Linked DNA regions of Homo sapiens: all the other regions are linked to region 4. The links are contacts of gene promoters, found by promoter capture Hi-C in blood cells and fetal thymus (Javierre and others, 2016). All regions are on one chromosome and are shown on one strand. The core of a region is centred on a gene start or on the middle of the fragment in contact, and the rest is flanking DNA. Distances in the headings are between cores, read along the strand shown.

Region 1 (4,710 bases), core at 168-2,667, 2.1 Mb before region 4:
TCCAACTGAATTCTGGGCACCCAGCTCAAAGACGAGTACTTGAAACATCTAAACTGTGTATAACTTAACCTGTTATTTTCTCATTTCAGGTCCCTAAACACTGCTCTTAATCCAGTATTATTTTAATAAATCTCAGTTAATATAATCACTCAAACTGACAAGCTAGAAATTTCAGAGTTATCCTCAATTCCATGCTCTCTATAACTTCCCAAAACAATCAGGAATCAAATCCTAGATCACGGCCACTGCCATGAGATTAGGTTCTCATCATTTTTCTGGTGGACTACTGTTAAGATCATTTAACTGGCCTTCTGCAGAAAGGCATCCTAAAAGATAAATCAACTATTTTTATTTATTCATTCACCAAATAGTTAAATGACTAGTCTTCTGCAGAAAGGAACTCTAAAAAAGAAATCAATTATCTTTTATTTATTCATTCACCAGATAGGTATAGAGCACCTGCTACATAATAAATATTATAATGTTAAAAATATGGTTTCAACAAAAAAACTTGCCATGTTATAGTAAGAAGCTAGTAATCCTAAAGTCGATATAGATTTAGCAAGTGATTTATTATATTACTGTTGAAAACGCAATGAAAGTAATAGGAATAAAATAATTTACTAAGGTGGTATATTTTTTAAAGAGATTTGTTTTCTTTGGTATTGTAATGAATCAGCAGGAAACATTTTAAAGAAATGAATTCATTTGGTTTTATGGAAATATAAGCAAAAATAAAAAGTGTGATATATAGTTTAGAACATTAATTTCTAAAATACATTCTGTAAAATACTGCTTCTTGGGATGAAACTACCTCGAAAAGCTTTCTGTTGTGAAATGTTTGAGAAACCACTGGATTAGACAAAAATAAGTAGGTTTGCATATACTAAGATTTCTCAGTGTTAATATTCTCATATATACTCTACATCTCTCTGAGTAGCAGTGTGACATGTAGTACTTTAAAATTTATTGACTAAAGAAATCTTTAGAACATCATCTCCTAGAACTACATACAGGACACATTTTGGAAAATGTTAAGCATTTGTGAGCAGACACTTTACCAGGAGCTCTGGATGGACAATGAACTTCAAGACAGGAACATTTATCAAATTTATCATAACAATGAATGATTCTGATAATGAATCAGACGTTCAGCAAGAATATAGCACTACTCATTAAGATCATAAGGGTCCATGCAGAATAGGTCTTAGTGAAATAAAAATCTGCTACCTTCAATCAAGTATGTATGTGGATTACCCAAACCAAGAATGTTTATACTTTAAAGAGAAATGTTTCAGCTCATGAAATGGCTCCAGCAGTCTGCCTGGGTGCTTGGCAGTTCATCTGCAACCTGGCACAGACCCAGATTTCTTTTTTTAGTTTTACTATTAATTCTTCATGTATTTTTTTAAAGTTCCAATAAAAATGAGGTTGAAACTGTATACTTTAAAAGACAATTTCTGAAAAACAGATAATATTAAAATTATATCAAGACTTTGGAAAGGTAACATGCATTAGAGAATATAAGATTTAGACTCTAACCTGAGGAAGCAAATTATTTGACCAACCAAATGATAGAATTTGTTCAGACATACTGTTAAGATGGTAAGGTAAATAAGAGACTCTTACTACAGTCTTATCCCCTCCTAGAAATTTTTCTAATAGACAACTTGGATATTTTTCTCAAGATTAACGGCTTTTAAAAATTGTTTTATTACACATCTCCAATATACCCCCCTCTCTCTTTCACACACACACACACACACACACACACACACAGAGCGCCAAATTTTTGAACCTTCTCTTTTGAAGTCCAAGAGTCTTCATACTAAATAAATAATAAATAAATAAAAATCAAAAAGGTGCAATTTCACCAACCACAGAGGATGTGTGAAGACTGGTCTTCTGAATTCAAGGTTGCCCCAGGATAAGCGAGTCCAGGGGAGATTAAATGAATTTCCCTATTCATAGCAATAAGAAAGTTCCCACCTCCTTTATTCTCCCCAACAAAAAAGCTTCCCCTATCAAACGACCTGGTGGCTTTTCCAGGATGGACTGCTTAGACTCTTAGGAGGGGCCCAGATAGCAGGCCCAGCCTGGGGTTGCGAGTAGTGTTTCTTCTAACAAAGCTATGGCACCCTGAGAAAGGAGGCTCAGTATTCCCCTGTGAGGATCTTTGTGGGTCTTTCAGTTGCCCTAGGATGGTGAATATGACAATAACCTGAGCTCCCAAATCATCTGAAGCAGGACCTCTTAATCACTCACCGCTGCGCTCTGAGCCGCTGGGAACCAAGGCTGGTTGCTAAGGACGCTGTGGGAGTCGCTCTGAGACAGACGTTGCTCTTTTACGGTCTCGTGACCAGGGCTTAGCCAATCAGGACTTATAAGTGAATTTCCACCTGCCCTGTCCCGTCTCCACCACATTTGTGTTCAATTTCTAAAGAATAAATGCAATGTTGTGTGAAAGACCTTTATTCGTTTTTAAAGAACATAGTAATGATTTGTTTCGAATATTGTACATACTTGCATATCCTGCAAGAAGCCACGGCAAGAAGCGGCTTCACAGTGCTTTAATGTCTCCTCAGTGTCTTAATGCTGCTTCCCCAAAACAAACCAGCACGCCTATCATACCAAAAGTAGCTATGTCTTTAAATTAAATTGCCGTTCGTAAGTTCCTTTTACATAGAAAATTTGGAGCAGTCAGTGTCCTCAGCACCCGTCAGTGAGTAAACAAAGCACCTAGAATGTTCTGCTATGTACTAAACACCAGAGGGCGAATTTAAACACAAAAGAACGCCTCTTTTTAAAGGTAGTATGCAATAGAATTATCTAATATAAGTCCTTTAAAAATCCTTGTAGAATTCCTATGTCTACTAACGAGCAACTGTATATATTTTACAAAGGTTCACCAGTGTAAAATACTATATGGAAGAATGGGGAAGGGCATTTATGATTAAATTCATACGTAGGCCGGGCGCAGTGGCTCATGCCTGTTATCCCAGCACTTTGGGAGGCCAAGGTGGGCGGATCACGAGGTCAGGAGTTCGAGACCATCCTGGCTAACATGGTGAAACCCGTCTCTACTAAAAATACAAAAGTTAGCCAGGCGTGGTGGCACCCACCTATAATCCCAGCTACTCAGGAGGCTGAGGCAGGAGAATTGCTTGAACCCAGGAGATGGAGGTTGCAGTGAGCCGAGATCATGCCACTGCACCCCAGCCTGGGAAACAGAGCGAGATTCCATCTAAAGAAAAAAAAAATACTAAAACGTAATATACAGGGATTGTCCTGTGAAATGACCTGCCTTTAAAAATTAGAACTTTGAAAGAAAATTTAACTTGAACTACTTCGATTCGGAATTAAGTTTTTTTGTTTTTTGAGTGCATTTTTATGTTTAAAACAGAAATTACAATATGTGATCTCAGGCTTCTCTGACGTATCACTCCTAGAAGATCAGTAAGTTAAAGGTAATAATGAAAAGTGAAATTGACAAAGACTATAAACTACATATGTGAGAGAACAAATCCTAGAATATCAACAGTGCTTACCATAATCCAGATAAAATAAAAATGAAAAGACTGTGGTATTTAATAATAGCCTGGGGGCTTGCTTGTTTTAATTTCAAGAGATCTAGAAAAGTGTTAAAAGCATAAAAAAATACAAACTGTTAACCAGGTTATTCATAATCAAATGAAGATTGAATTAAAAAGGAATAAAAGGAAGGCCGAATAAAAAATTCTTCTCCATAATATAAGAATCAGTTGAAACTATAGCATGTTTAGAGAAAAAAAGTCACCCCATCGATTCTACAGTGAAGACAACAGAACAAGTTTATATAAGGAAGAATTCACAAATACATATATATATATATTACACATATCTACTTATTCTAAATATATCTACTGATTTTATATATGTATCTACTGATTTTATTTATATATATATCAGTAGAATGAAAGATTACAGAAAAAGCATAAAATTTATATATGATAAATTTGCCATTTTAACTCAGTGGGGAAAAACTGTACAGAGGCTGAGCACAATTTGAAAGAAAATAAATCTGAACTACTATCTCATACCATAGCAACAATAAATCTCAGAGGAATGAAGCTTAAAACAGGAAATAATTTTAAATAATTTTAAGATAATATTGGTATAACCTTAGAGTCACAATAATATTAAGCTAATAGGAGACCCACAATGATTTTAAAAAATGACAAGAATATTTAGAAAATTTATGTAAGAAAAATAAATCTAATAAAGTCATACCTCCCCTTTCTCCCTTTAATTAGTCATCTACATTGAAGTTTTGACAAGACAAATCTAATTTTTTCAAATTATTATATATATACCTATATATATATAATCCTAAAATGGCCATTAATTAGCAATTAGGAAAATAAGCATGTCAAAACCATCCTAACCCCTTAGTATGGCACAATTATGCTTTCAGAAACTATATCATTGCCTACTTGCCCAGTTTTTTTCTGCTTTTTTTTTTTTTACCAGTCTTTTTTATTTTATTTTATTATTATTTTTTGAGATGAAGTCTCGCTTTTGTCCCCCAGGCTGGAGTGCAATGGAGCGATCTCAGCTCATTGCAACCTCCACCTCCTGGGTTCAAGCGATTCTCCTGCCTCAGCCTCCCGAGTACCTGGGATTACAGGCGCCTGCCACCACGCCTGGGTAATTTTTGTATTTTTGGTAGAG
Region 2 (5,014 bases), core at 1,527-4,026, 2.3 Mb after region 4:
ATATCAAGTTTTATCTAGTAGGACTGATTTCAAGGGATGCTGTCTTTCCCTCCTCAGTGCGCCAGATTGGCAGCAAGGGAGGAAACATAAAGGTGATGACTAGCCATTAGGTAGTCCCACTCCTTAACTCTGCAGTATTTATTTTCCTATTACCATATATGAATGTTTTCCTAGTTAGTATTTCAGTAGTCCATTATTCTATGTATCAAGTACATTGCACAGTCAGAATAATTCCTAAAGACAAACATAGCTTTTTTTTTTTTTTTGAGACAGAGTTTCACTCTTGTTGCCCAGGCTGGAGTGCAATGGCGCGATCTCGGCTCACTGCAACCTCCGCCTCCCAGGTTCAAGCAATTCTCCTGACTCAGACTCCCAGGTAGCTGGGGTTACAGGCACGCGTCACCACACCTAGCTCATTTTGTATTTTTAGTAGAGATGGAGTTTCTCCATGTTGGTCAGGCTGGTCTTGAACTCATGACCTCAGGTGATCCACCCGACATGGCCTCCCAAAGTGCTGGGATTACAGGTGTGAGCCACTGTGCCCAGACTTACAAACACAGTTAATAAGGAGTTTAACACAAAGTTCATGTTCAATATCCAATATCTACTTCAAGTATGTATCAAAAGACGAGAGTTCATTTTGACATTTTAACAGTGGGGGAGGCCCCTTTATAACTACAGTTTTAATTTATTCACCTGGAAAAATTAACTCTCAAGATGACAAAAATAATTTTCCTTCCAGTTACCACTGAATATATATCTATAAGCTTACCCCCACTACCATCCCAGCCCACAGTTCTAACACATACCTGGTCTGTTAATTCGGTCAATTTTATCCATACTAGGGGAGGGGAGCCGAAGTCGAGGACTGCTTTGATTGGAGTTGTCTGATCCCACATCGTTGAATGAATCATCGAGAGTCAGCAGGAGTTCTTTTACACATTTATGACAGATACTATGTTGGCAAGGGAGAATCAATGGGTGGGTAAACAGCTCCTTGCATGCTGGGCAAATGAGCTCCCTTTCGATATTCTTAATGGTAACCTTGAGAGTAAAATAGTCCAAGTTAAAGGCTCTTAGTGGGTAAATATATTAACATTCTTATACCTCCTGAATAAGTACATGTGTTTATTTTTCCAAAAAGAATTAAGAAAATGATTTTCTAAATTTTAAATTTCTTTTCCCCAATAAAATTTGATACCATCAACTGCCCTCAACACCCATAACCCAGAACTGAAGGAACATGAGATAGTAAAAGGCAAAAATGAAGAGAAAAATTATGTAAAATATTAGGGGACCATGATATTTTATCAAAAATTATAAAGCCATCATTCGAATCTCCATCACCAGTGCACTGATTTAGGACTTCGGTGAAATCCTAAAAGTAGATCATGTCAATAAAAATTTTGAATACAGCACTAAGAGTAAGACTATATTCTTATTTAGTGAATTAACACTGTGACTGACAAATAACAGGAGCTATTAAACACTAGCTGAGTCAGTATGTTCATGGAAACCTAGTTGGTATCTATTTACAAGCTGAATTATCAGCAATTTTCTACATTAAATGCGACCATTCTTCATTAATGCCTGAGGTTCTCATGCTGTATATCAAAGCAATTATCTTAAAAGCACTTTATGAGTATGTATTAGTCCATTTTCACACTGCTATAAAGAAAATTACCTGAGGCTGGGTAATTTATAAAGAAAAGAGATTTAAGTGACTCACAGTTCCACATGGCTAGGGAGTCCTCAAGAAACTTACAATCATGGCAGAAGGGGAAGCAGATCTGTGTTACGTGGTGGCAGGTGAGAGAGAGCAAGAGCAGGGATACTGCCTTACAAAACCATCAGATCTTATGAGAATTCGCTATCACAAGAACAGCATGGGGAAAATCTACCCCTGTGATTCAATGGCCTCCCACCAGGTCTCTCCCTCAACACCTTGGGATTACAATTCAAGATAAGATTTGAACCTAACCATATCATTGTGGCCCTGGCCCCTCCCAAATCTCATGTCCTCACATTTCAAAACCAATCATGCTTCCAAACAGTCCCCCAAAGTCTTAACTCATTTCAGCATTAGCTCAAAAGTCCAAGTCCAAAGTCTCATCTGAGACAAAGCAAGTCCCTTCTGCCTAGGGGCCTGGAGAATCAAAAGCAAGTTAGTTACTTCCAGGATACAATGGGTGTACAGGCATTGGACAAATGCTCCCATTCCAAATGGGAAAAATTGGCCAAAACAAAGGGGCTACAGGTCCCATGAAAGTCTGAAACCCAAAAGGACAGTTATTAAGTCATAAAGCTCACAAGTGAGATCTCCTTTGACTCAATGTCTCTCATTCAGGGTACGCTGATCCAAAGGGTGGACTGCCATGGCCTTGGGCAGTTCCACCCCTGTGGCTTTGCAGGGTACAGCCCACACACCACCTGCTTTCATGGCTGGCATTGAGTATCTGCAGGTTTCCCAGGCGCATGATGAAAGCTGTTGGTGGATCTACCATTCTGGGGTCTGGAGGACCATGGTCCTCTTCTCAGAGCTCCCCTAGGGAGTGCCCCAGTGGGGACTCTGTGTGGCGGCTTATATCTCACATTTCCCCTTTGCACTGCCCTAGCAGAGGTTCTCCATGAGAGCTTCGCCCCTGCAGCAGACTTCTGCCTGGATATCCAGGTGTTTCTGTACATCCTCTGAAATCTAGGCAGAGGTTTCCAAACCTCAACTCTTGACTTTTGTGCACTGGTAGGCCCAACACCATGTGTAAGCCACCAAGGCTTGCACCCTCTGAGGCAATGGTCTGAACTGTACCTTGGCCCCTTTTAGCCACAACTGGTACTGGAACAGCTGGGACACAGGGCACCAAGTCCCAGTGATGGCAGCTGCAGCCCATCTGGAGCAGCTGCTGCAAAGATGCTGGCTGCAGTTGGGAAGGCACAGCCGGACCTGCTTGCTCTGCAGAGCCAGCGGGACCCAGGAACAGGCAGGAGCCCTTCTCCCTTCCGAGTTGGTGCGGAGGGAGCCCCATGCTCCTGGGTGCAATTGCAGCCACCCAGCTGTGGACTAGGGCATTCCTATGCTCTCGGGGGCCCAGGATGCCTCTCTTCCCCCACATGCTCAGAAGTGCCTGCTCCTACTGCTTGGCCTCTCCCCATTCCCAGTGCCCACTCTGACTTTGGAGAAAAGCTGTGGCCAAGCCCGGGCACTGACATGACCTGGCCAGGTGTGTGTGTGCTTGAGGAGATGCTGACACACCAGCCCCCTGCCACCTCAGCTCCCTCTGGACTTTGGGCGCTGATGAACGTGGGAGGGAGGCCAAGGGCAGGGCTGAGGGTGACTCAACGTGGTACTGCAGGCGTCCCTCAGCTAAAACAGTCTGGGCACCATGAACAGCAGTGGGAGGGAGACAGGCTCCTGGGAGGAAAGGGACAGGTCCCTGCTGAAACCCCACCTTCAAGCCAGGGATAGCCTGAAGCCTAGGGTCCAGGCTGCCAGTTCCACTGACTGGAGTGAAAACTTACAGTGAATTTTCCAGGCCCACCCATGGCCACCCATGGGCCAATCAGCACACACTTCCTCCCCTCTGAAGCCCATAAAAACCGCAAACTCAGCCAGACTCTGGCAGATGATAGGACGACCTGCCTGCAGGTAAGAGCTACCCACTTGGGTCTCCTCTCCACTGAGGACTGCACACTCGACAAAATGACCTGCCTGCAGAGAGGAGGTACCCACTCCGGGTCTCTTCTCTGCTGAGAGCTGCAGTTGTCGGGAGGAACTGCCTGCAGAAAGCAGCTACCCATGACAGGTCTCCTGAGAGCTACTCTTTTGCTCAATAAAGCACCTTGTTCACCCTCCAGTTGTCCATGTAGCTCATTCTTCCTGGACACAGTACAGGAACTCTGGACCTGCCAAATGGCAGGACCAAACAAGCTGTAACACAAACTGTGTCAAATACACCCTGCTGCTCGCCATGTTGTGGGTGACGATGAGGAGACAAGAGAGGAGAGAAGAGCTGCAGCCCTTCAGGGAGCCTGGACTTAGGAGCTCCCCAAGCCAGGGCTGTGACATCCTCTTTGTGGCTCTGCAGTTGCCGGCATCTCCAAGTTTCTGGGTGCCACCATGTTCCACAGTGCTTGTAGTGGGAGCCACTTGTGGTACACCTGTTCCAGCCACAGCAAGGAGCCGGCGCCCATACTGGCACCTGGACCTGCCTGCCCCGCCACAGCCACCATGCCTGGCTGTGCACACTGTACCCCGCGCTCGCTCACTCATGCACCCCTTGCTGCTCTGCACCTGGCTTGCCGTTGGCAGCCGTGGGATCTGGGCCAGTAGTGAAAACCAAGCACAGCCTGCTGGGTCAAGTGGGCAGAACAAGCCCAGTGGGCCTGAGCAAAACTTGGGCAAAGGCAACACTTGCCACAGAGGTTTCTGGCTGGTGAAGCGACACCCTAAGGATCCTGTGATACCGAGGCTGCACACAGCAGCAGGGCCCTGGGCCCACTCCACTAAAACATTTTTCTCTCCTAGGCCTCCAGGCCTGTGATGGGGCTCTCTTCATTAATGCACCTGTTTGGCCCTGCCAAACGGAGGGACTGCTGCCAAGATCTCTGACATGTCCTGGAGACATTTTACCCATAGTCTTGGCAATTAACATTTGAGTCTTTTTTACTTAAGCAAATTTCTGCAGCTAGCTTGAATCCCTCCCCAGAAAATAGGTTTTTCCTTTCTACTCCATGGTAAGGCTGCAAATTTTCCAAACTTTTACGCTCCGCTTCATCTCTCTCAAGTTCAAAGCTTCACAAATCTCTAGGACAGGGGCAAAACACTGCCAGTCTCTTTGCTAAAGCATAGCAAGAGTCACCTTCACTCCAGTTTCCGACAAGTTCCTCATCTCCATCTGAGACCACCTTGGCCTGCACTTCTTTGTCCATACCACTAGCAGAATTTTGGTCAAAACCATTCAACAAGTCTCTAGGAAGTTCCAAACTTTCCCACATCTTCCTGTCTTCTTCTGAGCCC
Region 3 (4,508 bases), core at 1,940-4,439, 2.1 Mb before region 4:
TGCTTCAATATTTATACTTAAAGCTTTGATTCATTTGATAGACTATTATTACATATAAATATGTGTGCACATGTATGTATATGTCACTCTGAGACCTGAAACCCACAGCTGTAATTGTTTTGTGGGGCACATTCTCAAAATAAATATTTGATACATAAATATTAGTCAATTAACATGGTCATTAAGAATCTTATAATTTAAGATTTATACTTAAATTTATACTTAAACCTTATAATTTAAGTGCACCAAAACCAAACATTTTTAGAATGGGGTTCATGAAGATCAAATGACTCTGCTGATAGGAATTCTGTTATTAGGACATTTTCTGAAAGAAATAATTTGCAGCATTAAATGCCATTTAATTGATGTGCCATTTCCCACATTAAACATTCAGAGATCTAGTTTCATCTTATACTATAGACATTAATATTATGTATTATGTATTGTTTCCCTTATTTACTAGTATGCAGATCTGGTTTTCATTCTTTTCATATTGAATTTCGTTATGGGTAGAATCATTTGCAAACATTTCTAGACATTTTTAAAGATCTATTTAATTTGTTTAAGAATGGAAAACATAAAATAATGCATGATTCTTCAGGCAAGAATAATTTCAGAAAGATACCTGTTGTAAATTTAATTTATCTCTATGTAGACATACATATACATAAATTATTTTTATATAGTCTCTTTACAGAAAATGTATTGGCACATCCTTGCATTGTTCTACGCCGCCAATGTCAGGTAAATGTAATTTCTGTGATCTTTTGAAGCAATACTTCTGACCCTAATATGAAGGGCAGAACTCACATAAATGACATGAAACCAGGTAATTGTTACTTCATGTGAAATGTTCCAAACTTTTTGGTCTCAAAACCTCTTTAAAGTCTTAAAAAAATATTGAGGATCCTAAATAACTTTGGTTTATGTTGGTCATATCTATTGATAGTTACCATTTCAGAAATTAAAATTGGGAAAATTTCAATGCATCTATATAATTCATTAAAATAATAACACCTGTTAGTAAGATAATATGTTTTTATGAAAGTAACTATTTTGCATTTTTGCAAATATCTTTAATATCTGACATAATAGGAGAGAGCCAGTTTCTCTCGTATGCTTCTGCAGTCAATCTGTTGCATCACGTGGTTTTTGAAAGAAGCAAGGAAGTTTAGTCTTGTACACATGTATAGTTGAAAGCAGGAGAGGAGTATATTATATTCTTTTGAGATAATTGTGGGTATTCTTTGCAATTGCACCAAAACTCACTGTGTCGCAGTTTCTTAAAGGTTATTTGCAATGTGAAATCAGAAATCATTTTAGTGAACTTTTTATACTTTGTTACATTAAAAAATCCATTTAACTATACTGCATCTTGAATAGATATTTTTACTTATGCCTGATTCCATGTAATTGTGCATAAGTTATTTGAAAAATATTGACCAATTGAGTTACATAGATCTTCCTGTTGTTAAAACATTTGATTATAAAATATCAAAAAATCATCTTCATTAAAAATACTACTGATCTCACTAGAAAAGTCTATAAGTATTGTCAGCTCTTGACGATGCATATAGATTTTCCAAAATTCTGAGTTTTAGTTGAAAATTCAAACTTATCATTGACAGTAAATACTGTTATTTATTTTTGTTTTAATCAACAATCTCACTTTGTTTATTTTTTAAAATATGTCTGTCCTGAAAGTGAATAGGTATAGTCCGTCAATGAGTTTTTCTAAGTAAAAATGATGTTCCGTGAAAAAAGTGGCTAGTTTAGCTTGCAGTTCTATCATACAAGTGCTTTCCTCATGACAGCAATCTTACTTCCTTATGTAACACACAGGATATTAATTAGAAAGAGGATGTGTACTCAAAGGTCAAGGATTCATAAAATTAACATTTTGTTACTTCATTGTCAAGGATATTACTATATGAAGGTTGCTTTTTTCTCTCTATGGGTAAATGAGGTGAAAAATTACTGTAAGTACGAAAATACAGTTTGATGGTGCTGCCTCAATTTGTGCTAATGAGCTGGGAGTTTTACCTACCATTGCTTTTGTACCATTAGTGAAAATGTCAAGACAGTGAAAAAAGGAAATTATATCTTAGTAATCACTAGGAAAATAATTTTGAACTTGTCAAGCCCCTGAAAGGGTAATGGGGCCCTCAGGAGTCAGTGGACCCCACTTGCAAACTCTGTTATAACCCACTTTTTTTTTTTGTTTGTTTGAGACGGAGTCTCGCTCTGTTGCCCAAACTGGAGTGCAGTGGCATGATCTCGGCTCACTGCAAACTCCGCCTCCTGGGTTCACGCCATTCTCCTGCCTCAGCCTCCCGAGTAGCTGGGACTACAGGAGCCCGCCACCGTGCCCAGCTAATTTTTTGTATTTTTAGTAGAGACGGGGTTTCATCGTGTTAGCCAGGATGGTCTCGATCTCCTGACCTCATGATCCGCCCGCCTCAGCCTCCCAAAGTGGTGGGATTACAGGTGTGAGCCACTGCGCCCGTCCTGTTATAACCCACTTTCTCTGTAAAGTAATGCTTCCTGTATTTGTTAGCTGTTAGAGTTCAAAACAGTATAAATCATTATAAATTAATCTGTTCATGCTTAGCACTGAAAAGTATGTATACAGAAATACCATTAAAGTAGCATTGACTGTATGTGCCACAGAACAGTGTATTTCAGATATATATTTTACATTGTAGTAATATTAACATGGAGATCCAATGGATACATTACATATAAGTAACAAATATATTATTTTTAAATGTTTTATGAAATAATACCATTAGAATGTAATACATTCTAATATTTTATTGTTTCACATAATAAATATTGTTTTGACACTCCCCCAGTTGATTTCATATACCAGTCAGTTGCCAAGTACAGTTTGAAAAATGCTTGCCTAAAATGAACATGAGTTGGGAGATGTAATTCAGTTGTTTAAGGCAAACCAAATATCAAATAAGACCCTCTTTATTATATAGTCTACAGTACTGTGTGTATTATGCATTGGTCTTCAGATTGTATTTATATAACCATACATACTGTACTTTTAATAGGTTATTTAAAGCACTTTTAAGAGTAATTTTGCTTATGTGTAATTTATGTTGACTTTGGAATTAACTTTTGTTTATACTGCAATTCCACCATATTTCTTTCATGGCTCTGTTATTTCTTGACAAAACATTAACAGAAAAAAATAATGAAATATCTTTTTTACAGGTTAATTACCATGCTCAGCATTACCATCTCACTCCATTTACAGTCATCAATATTATGTACAGTTTCAACAAAACTCAGGTGAGAATTTTGTCTGGATTCTATTAAAGGTTTATATAAGTGTCATTTGGGTTTAGTAATCATTAAAGCAAGAATAATTACTTTCAGTTTGGTCAATAAAACATCTTAACTGTTGTAGTAAAACTAAAGTAGCACAACGATATGTTTTTGAATCTTTCAAAATGTAATTTAGCAAAAGTACAATTTAATTTAGCAAAACCACAAAGAGCTGTGCTAAGATGATGTCTCTGCTATCAAGAGGCTCATATTTATTCATGGAGACAAAATCTTTGAAGATTGTGCTGCAGTAAGATAAAGGCAATATTAGAAGTACAGAATGCTGTCAGAATACAAAAGAGAAGTACCTTATCAAAACTGGGCTTGGGCACAGTGTATGGCTGGGAAAAACTTTGGGAAAAGAAAGGCCCGAATTGTGTGCTTCTTGTTGAGAAGTCTGACTCTTCATGATGAGGATAGAGAAAAGGTTTTTAAAGTAGACGTGTGAAGGCAGAAGACAAAGAGAGATCATAATGTTTGGGAATGGATTTAATGGAGTACAATGGGAGCTTGAAGTGGGGGTTGAAGAGTAAGAGAAAGATGAAAAAGTAGCCAGAGAAGTAAGCAGGATCCAGATTCTAAAGCACCTTCTAAGAACTGCACACTACTAGATCTTAAAAGCTACAAGAGTACTGTTGAAGGTGTTTTAGCCATGACCAAAATATCTTGAAGACCTTTGGATTGTTTGGCAATATCTATTAAAATTTAAAATGTACATGTTCTTTCACTTCCAGGAACTTATCCCACATAGATGTGCACATATATATGCAAAAATATATATACAAGGATGTCCTATGACATTGCATATAATAGACTGGAAATGATTAAATGTCCATCACTAGGGTACCAGTGAAATAATTATGGTATATTATGGTGAAACACCTTGTAACCTTTAAAAATAAGAGGGTAGCTCTGTGTATACTAATGTGGAATGATCTCCAGGATATTTTTTATGTTTCAAGATAATACTACCTGTTAAAAATAAGCAAAACAAAAATATTTCTATAACATACACACACAGATATACTTGTATATGCATGGATTATCCCGATAAATTTTAAAACTGCTGCTGAGGACTGGGATGAAAAGGAGACAGACTTTTCAGCTGATACCCTATTGCTTCTTTTTAATTCTATCATGTATATCTATTAATAATATAGATAATATAG
Region 4 (4,387 bases), core at 1,250-3,749:
CTTTGTTGTTCCATTTAGAGAACACAGGCAGAGTTGATTTAGCATCATTCTAGGGTCTCTAGGATTTTCTGCATGGTAAATGTCCATTGGCTTTAACTTAAAATCACCAACTGCATTGTTCCCTAACAAGATAATCAGCCTGTCCTTGGCAGCTTTGAAGCCAGGCATTGACTTCTTCTCTCAAAGAGACAAGGATTTTGGGTGCTACATCCTAGATGGCATCTTTTTCCAATAGAAGGCTGTTTTGTCTACATTGAAAAACCTGTTGTTTAGTGTAGCCACTAAATGGGGCAGCTCTGAAGCCAGACATTGACTTCTCTCAAAGGGACAAGGATTTTGGGTGCTACATCCTAGATGGTATCTTTTTCCAATAGAAGACTGTTTTGTCTACATTGAAAAATCTGTTGTTTAGTGTAGCCACTAAATGATACTAGCTAATCATTGATCATCGTCAATGATATTAGCTACATTTTCTGGATAACTTGCTGCAGCTTCTCTATCAGCACTTGCTGCTTCACCTTGCACTTTTATGTTATATGTTATGGAGATGGATTCTTTCTTAAACCTCCTGAACCACCCTCTACTAGCTTCCCACTTCTGAAGCTTCCTCACCTTTCTCAGCCTTCACAGAATTGAAGGGAGTTAGGGCCTTGCTCGGATTAGGCTTTGGGTTAAAGGAATGTTGTGACTGGTTTGAGCTTCTATCCAAACCCCTAAAACTTTCTCCATATCAGCAATAAGGTTGTTTTGCTTTCTGATCATTTGTGTGTTTATTGAAGTAATTTCCTTTTAATTCCTTCAAGAATTTTGTCTTTGTATTTACAACTTGGCTGTTAGGTGCCAAGAGGCCTAGCTTTCAGCCTATCTTGGCTTACATATGCCTTCCTCACTAAGCTTAATCATTTCCATCTTTTGACATGTGAGACGTGTGACTCTTCCTTTCACTTGAATACTTAGAGGCCATTGTAGGGTTACTAACTGGCCTAATTTCAACATTGTTGTGTTTCAGGGAATAGGGACTCCAGAAGAGGGAGAGAGATGGGAAATGGCCAGTTGGTCGAACAGTTAAAACATACACAACATTTATCCATTAAGTTCCCCATCTTATCTGGGCATGGTTCATGGTGCCCCAAAACATTATTATTATTTGAGACGGAGTCTTGCACTGTCGCCAGGCTGGAGTGCAGTGGTGTGATCTTGGCTCACTGCAACCTCCACCTCCTGGGTTCAAGAGATTCCCCTGCCTCCCGAGTAGCTGGGACTAAAGGCCTGTGCCACCATGCCTGGCTTATTTTTTATATTTTAGTAGAGATGGGGTTTCACCATGTTGGCCAAGATGGTGTCTATCTCCTGACCTCGTGATCCACCTGCCTCGGCCTCCCAAAGTGCTGGGATTACAGGCGTGAGCCACCGCACCCGGCCTTAAAACTATTACAATAGTAACAGCAAACATCACTGATCACCGATCACCATAACAGAAATAATGAAAAGGTTTGAAATATTGCAAAAATTACCAAATGTGACACAAAGTATACGCTGCTGGAAAAATGGCACCAAGCAACTTCTTTCAGGCGGATTTGCCAAAAACCTTCCATTTGTAAAAAGGCAGTATCTACTCGCAGCAGCAAGTGAAGTGCAATAATGAAGTATGCCTGTAGTGATGGCACATGGTATCCTTCAGAAGTTTTAAAAGGTGAATAGTTTTGTTTCGTTTTTCCTAGACGGAGTCTTGCTCTGTTACGCAGGCTGGAGTGCAGTGGTGTGATCTCAGCTCACTGCAACCTCCACCTCCTGGGTTCAAGTGATTCTCCTGTCTCAGCCTCCGAGTAGCTGGGATTACAGGCGTGTGCCACCACACTCGGCTAATTTTTGTATTTTTAGTACAGACGGGGTTTCAGCATGTTGGCCAGGCTGCTCTCCAACTCCTGACCTCATGATCCACCTGCCTCAGTCTCCCAAAGTGCTGGGATACAGGCGTGAGCCACCGCACCCGGCCTAAAAGGTGAATAGCTAAGTTTCTAACGCAGAGCACACTGAAACACAACGTCTATAACTTTGCTAGTTCTACCACTACAAAAATCCATTTTGCCAAACTGAAAGCAAGCTCTAGAGCCCAGGAACGGAGAAAAATTAAACGTAAGGAGTATTTCCTTCCCTGTCTAACATATATTTGCATCCTGAACCACACAGATTCCCCTCGTGGCACAGTCTTCGCCCCTTAACAGAGAGTAGCTAGTACCACCCATACTCGCTGAGAAACTGGAAACGAGGGAGGGTCGAAGTTAAACCCTTTTTAGTGGCGGTGCATGCGCCCCACATGGTCTTCCCGGCTTGGGAAAGGAATGAGAAGCTTTCATGATTCTCTCGCGAGAAGGGAAGTCTTCATGCCACGTCAGAGACTAGAGATCCTGGCGCCGAGCGACAGGTGCCGGAACAAACAGGCGATGAGAAATCGCGGACGCGGAACCATTTCTTGGGCAGGACTTCCGGCGGAAAAGCGGGCTGTCTCGGAAACTCAGAGCCGGGTTCCTCCCGGGTTTCTGCCGGGTTTCTCCCTGCGGCTCCTGGGTTGTTGAGACTCTTGTGAAGATGGCTTGCGCTGCCGCGCGGTCCCCGGCCGACCAGGACAGGTGGGTTCTGAGGCGGTGGGTCCTCCGAAAGGAAGGGGCTTGCTGTGGTGCTGCAGGTGCTACACCGCGCTTCTCCGCTCCGCGGCCTCCAGAATGGCCTAGCTGATCCAACTCGCTCTGTACGGGCCCCGCGCCTCTCCCTGGCAGCTCGTTTTTCTGAATCCTGCAGCAGCCACCAGGCTCTTCTCAGGGCTCCTGAAATTCCGACCATAGGTAGCCTAGTGTTTATCTGTACGCGAGACAAGGATTTTGGGTGCTACGTGGACATGATATCAAGTAATATAATCACAGTGTGAGAAATGTGTTCTTTTTAAGTATTGTTGCGTTCAGAAAGGCTCATTTGTGAAATTTTAAGGTTTTTAATACCTCGGACACTTTATATAAGAGGGCGGGCCCATTCTCAGGAACTTTTGACGGGCTGCTCTGTCTAATGTAACAGTTACCCAAGTCGTTTTGTTTCTATTCCTGTGGTTTTTTTCCATCCAAGGTAGTGGATAAAGTTTATTTTTAAATAAGTTAAAGTGAGGTAATTTAAAGAAATAACATTAAGCAAATAATAGCATAGGTGTACCAGCAATGATGACGACTACCACGGACCGAAAGAATGTATTTTTGAAAATACTTGTTATCTGTTGAGTGTAGTTGTCCAGGTTCTTGGCGTTTTGAATAAGGAATTGAACAAAACACACAAAGCAAGGCAGCGAAAGCAGATTTATTTTAAACAAAAGTACACTCCACAGGGTGGGAGCCGGCTCCAGCAAGCTACCCAAGAGCTGTTGGTTACAGAATTTTCTAGGGTTTAAATACCCTCTAGACGTTTCCCATTGACCTGTGCCAGTCTGATTGGTTGAGGGAGGGGGATCAATCAGAAAGAGGAGTAGGCCCGCGGCCAGTCTGATTAGTTGCTCGAGGGGACCACTCCGAGGTACTTTGATTTTTCAACTGCCACGCAGAAAAAGGAGGGGTTGAAAAGGGAGTACCCATCTGATATCTAGGCAGCATGAATTGGCCTTTGGTTCCCTGCCACCCGACCCTTTTCTCCTGCCTCTTACTGCTCTAGTGATACCACTTATGCTATTGTCTATGGCAGGTTTATTTGTATCTATCCTGCTTATTTAAATAATAAGAAGACCATCGCAGAGGGAAGGCGAATCCCCATAAGTAAGGTAAGCAAGATGGCTGGCACCTTGATCCTCGAGGGAATGGGGGGTGTCATCCTGGTCGGGCCACGTAATCTTGTTAGAGCCGCAGGGGGTTCTCTTCACTGCATTTATTTAGGGCTTGAGAACACAGCCAAGAATTGGGGTGCGTTCCTCAGTGTTGGTGAAACCAGAAAGGCATTAATTCATAGCTGAAGGGATATTTTTTTAACGTCTCTTAATGAGCCTTTGTTTGTAAAGGAGTGGGGGCAGAGTGTAGAGTTCACATGTTTTTAAAACAAAGGTTATGACGGTGTTTCCCTTGATATAGGAAATCAAAATTATGACATTGTACGATACATTAATAATGTTCAGAATGTAGTTGAGATTTTTTTAAGTGTGTGAAGAAGACATGCAGAAAGTTCAGCCCTGTTGAGTTTTATTAAAGTGTCATTTGTATTTTGTAATATGACAGATTTAAGACACCTAGGTTTGATGCAGTGAATTCTCCCATGATGAGTACATCTGGGTGGTAACAAGCACTCAAAAAAGAAAACACTACAAGCATCCAGGAAGATTGCTTTATGTTCCCTCTCAGTCACTGTCGCCTCCGCATAT

Evidence for each region. The method cuts DNA at HindIII sites, captures the fragments that hold promoters and counts their contacts. A CHiCAGO score of 5 or more calls a contact.
Region 1: a contact is called between a fragment that was not itself captured here and the fragment with the promoter of SRP19 in region 4, in 1 of 17 cell types (fetal thymus). The highest score is 7.2, in fetal thymus.
Region 2: a contact is called between a fragment that was not itself captured here and the fragment with the promoter of SRP19 in region 4, in 1 of 17 cell types (fetal thymus). The highest score is 5.4, in fetal thymus.
Region 3: a fragment that was not itself captured here is called in contact with the fragment with the promoter of SRP19 in region 4 in 1 of 17 cell types (fetal thymus); the score reaches 5.1 in fetal thymus.

Annotation. Positions count from the first base shown.
Region 1 is chr5:110,724,362-110,729,071 of GRCh38, forward strand. It overlaps TMEM232 (transmembrane protein 232), which reads right to left and starts at 2,310. Exons shown (of 14, transcript NM_001039763.4): 1 at 2,266-2,310. The HindIII fragment of the contact is 1,192 bases long and covers 822-2,013 here.
Region 2 is chr5:115,162,709-115,167,722 of GRCh38, forward strand. It overlaps TRIM36 (tripartite motif containing 36), which reads right to left. Exons shown (of 10, transcript NM_001300759.2): 2 at 810-1,044. Among named protein-coding and RNA genes, the nearest start is that of TRIM36, 4.7 kb to the right of the region's middle. The HindIII fragment of the contact is 4,022 bases long and covers 766-4,787 here.
Region 3 is chr5:110,743,044-110,747,551 of GRCh38, forward strand. SLC25A46 (solute carrier family 25 member 46) reads left to right here. Exons shown (of 8, transcript NM_138773.4): 3 at 687-744; 4 at 3,226-3,303. Among named protein-coding and RNA genes, the nearest start is that of SLC25A46, 6.3 kb to the left of the region's middle. The HindIII fragment of the contact is 6,336 bases long and covers 22-4,508 here.
Region 4 is chr5:112,858,788-112,863,174 of GRCh38, forward strand. SRP19 (signal recognition particle 19) reads left to right here and starts at 2,500. Exons shown (of 5, transcript NM_003135.3): 1 at 2,500-2,630; 2 at 3,721-3,796. The coding sequence starts at 2,590. RefSeq lists enhancers at 2,265-2,559, 2,318-2,397, 2,498-2,797. The HindIII fragment of the contact is 2,166 bases long and covers 2,349-4,387 here.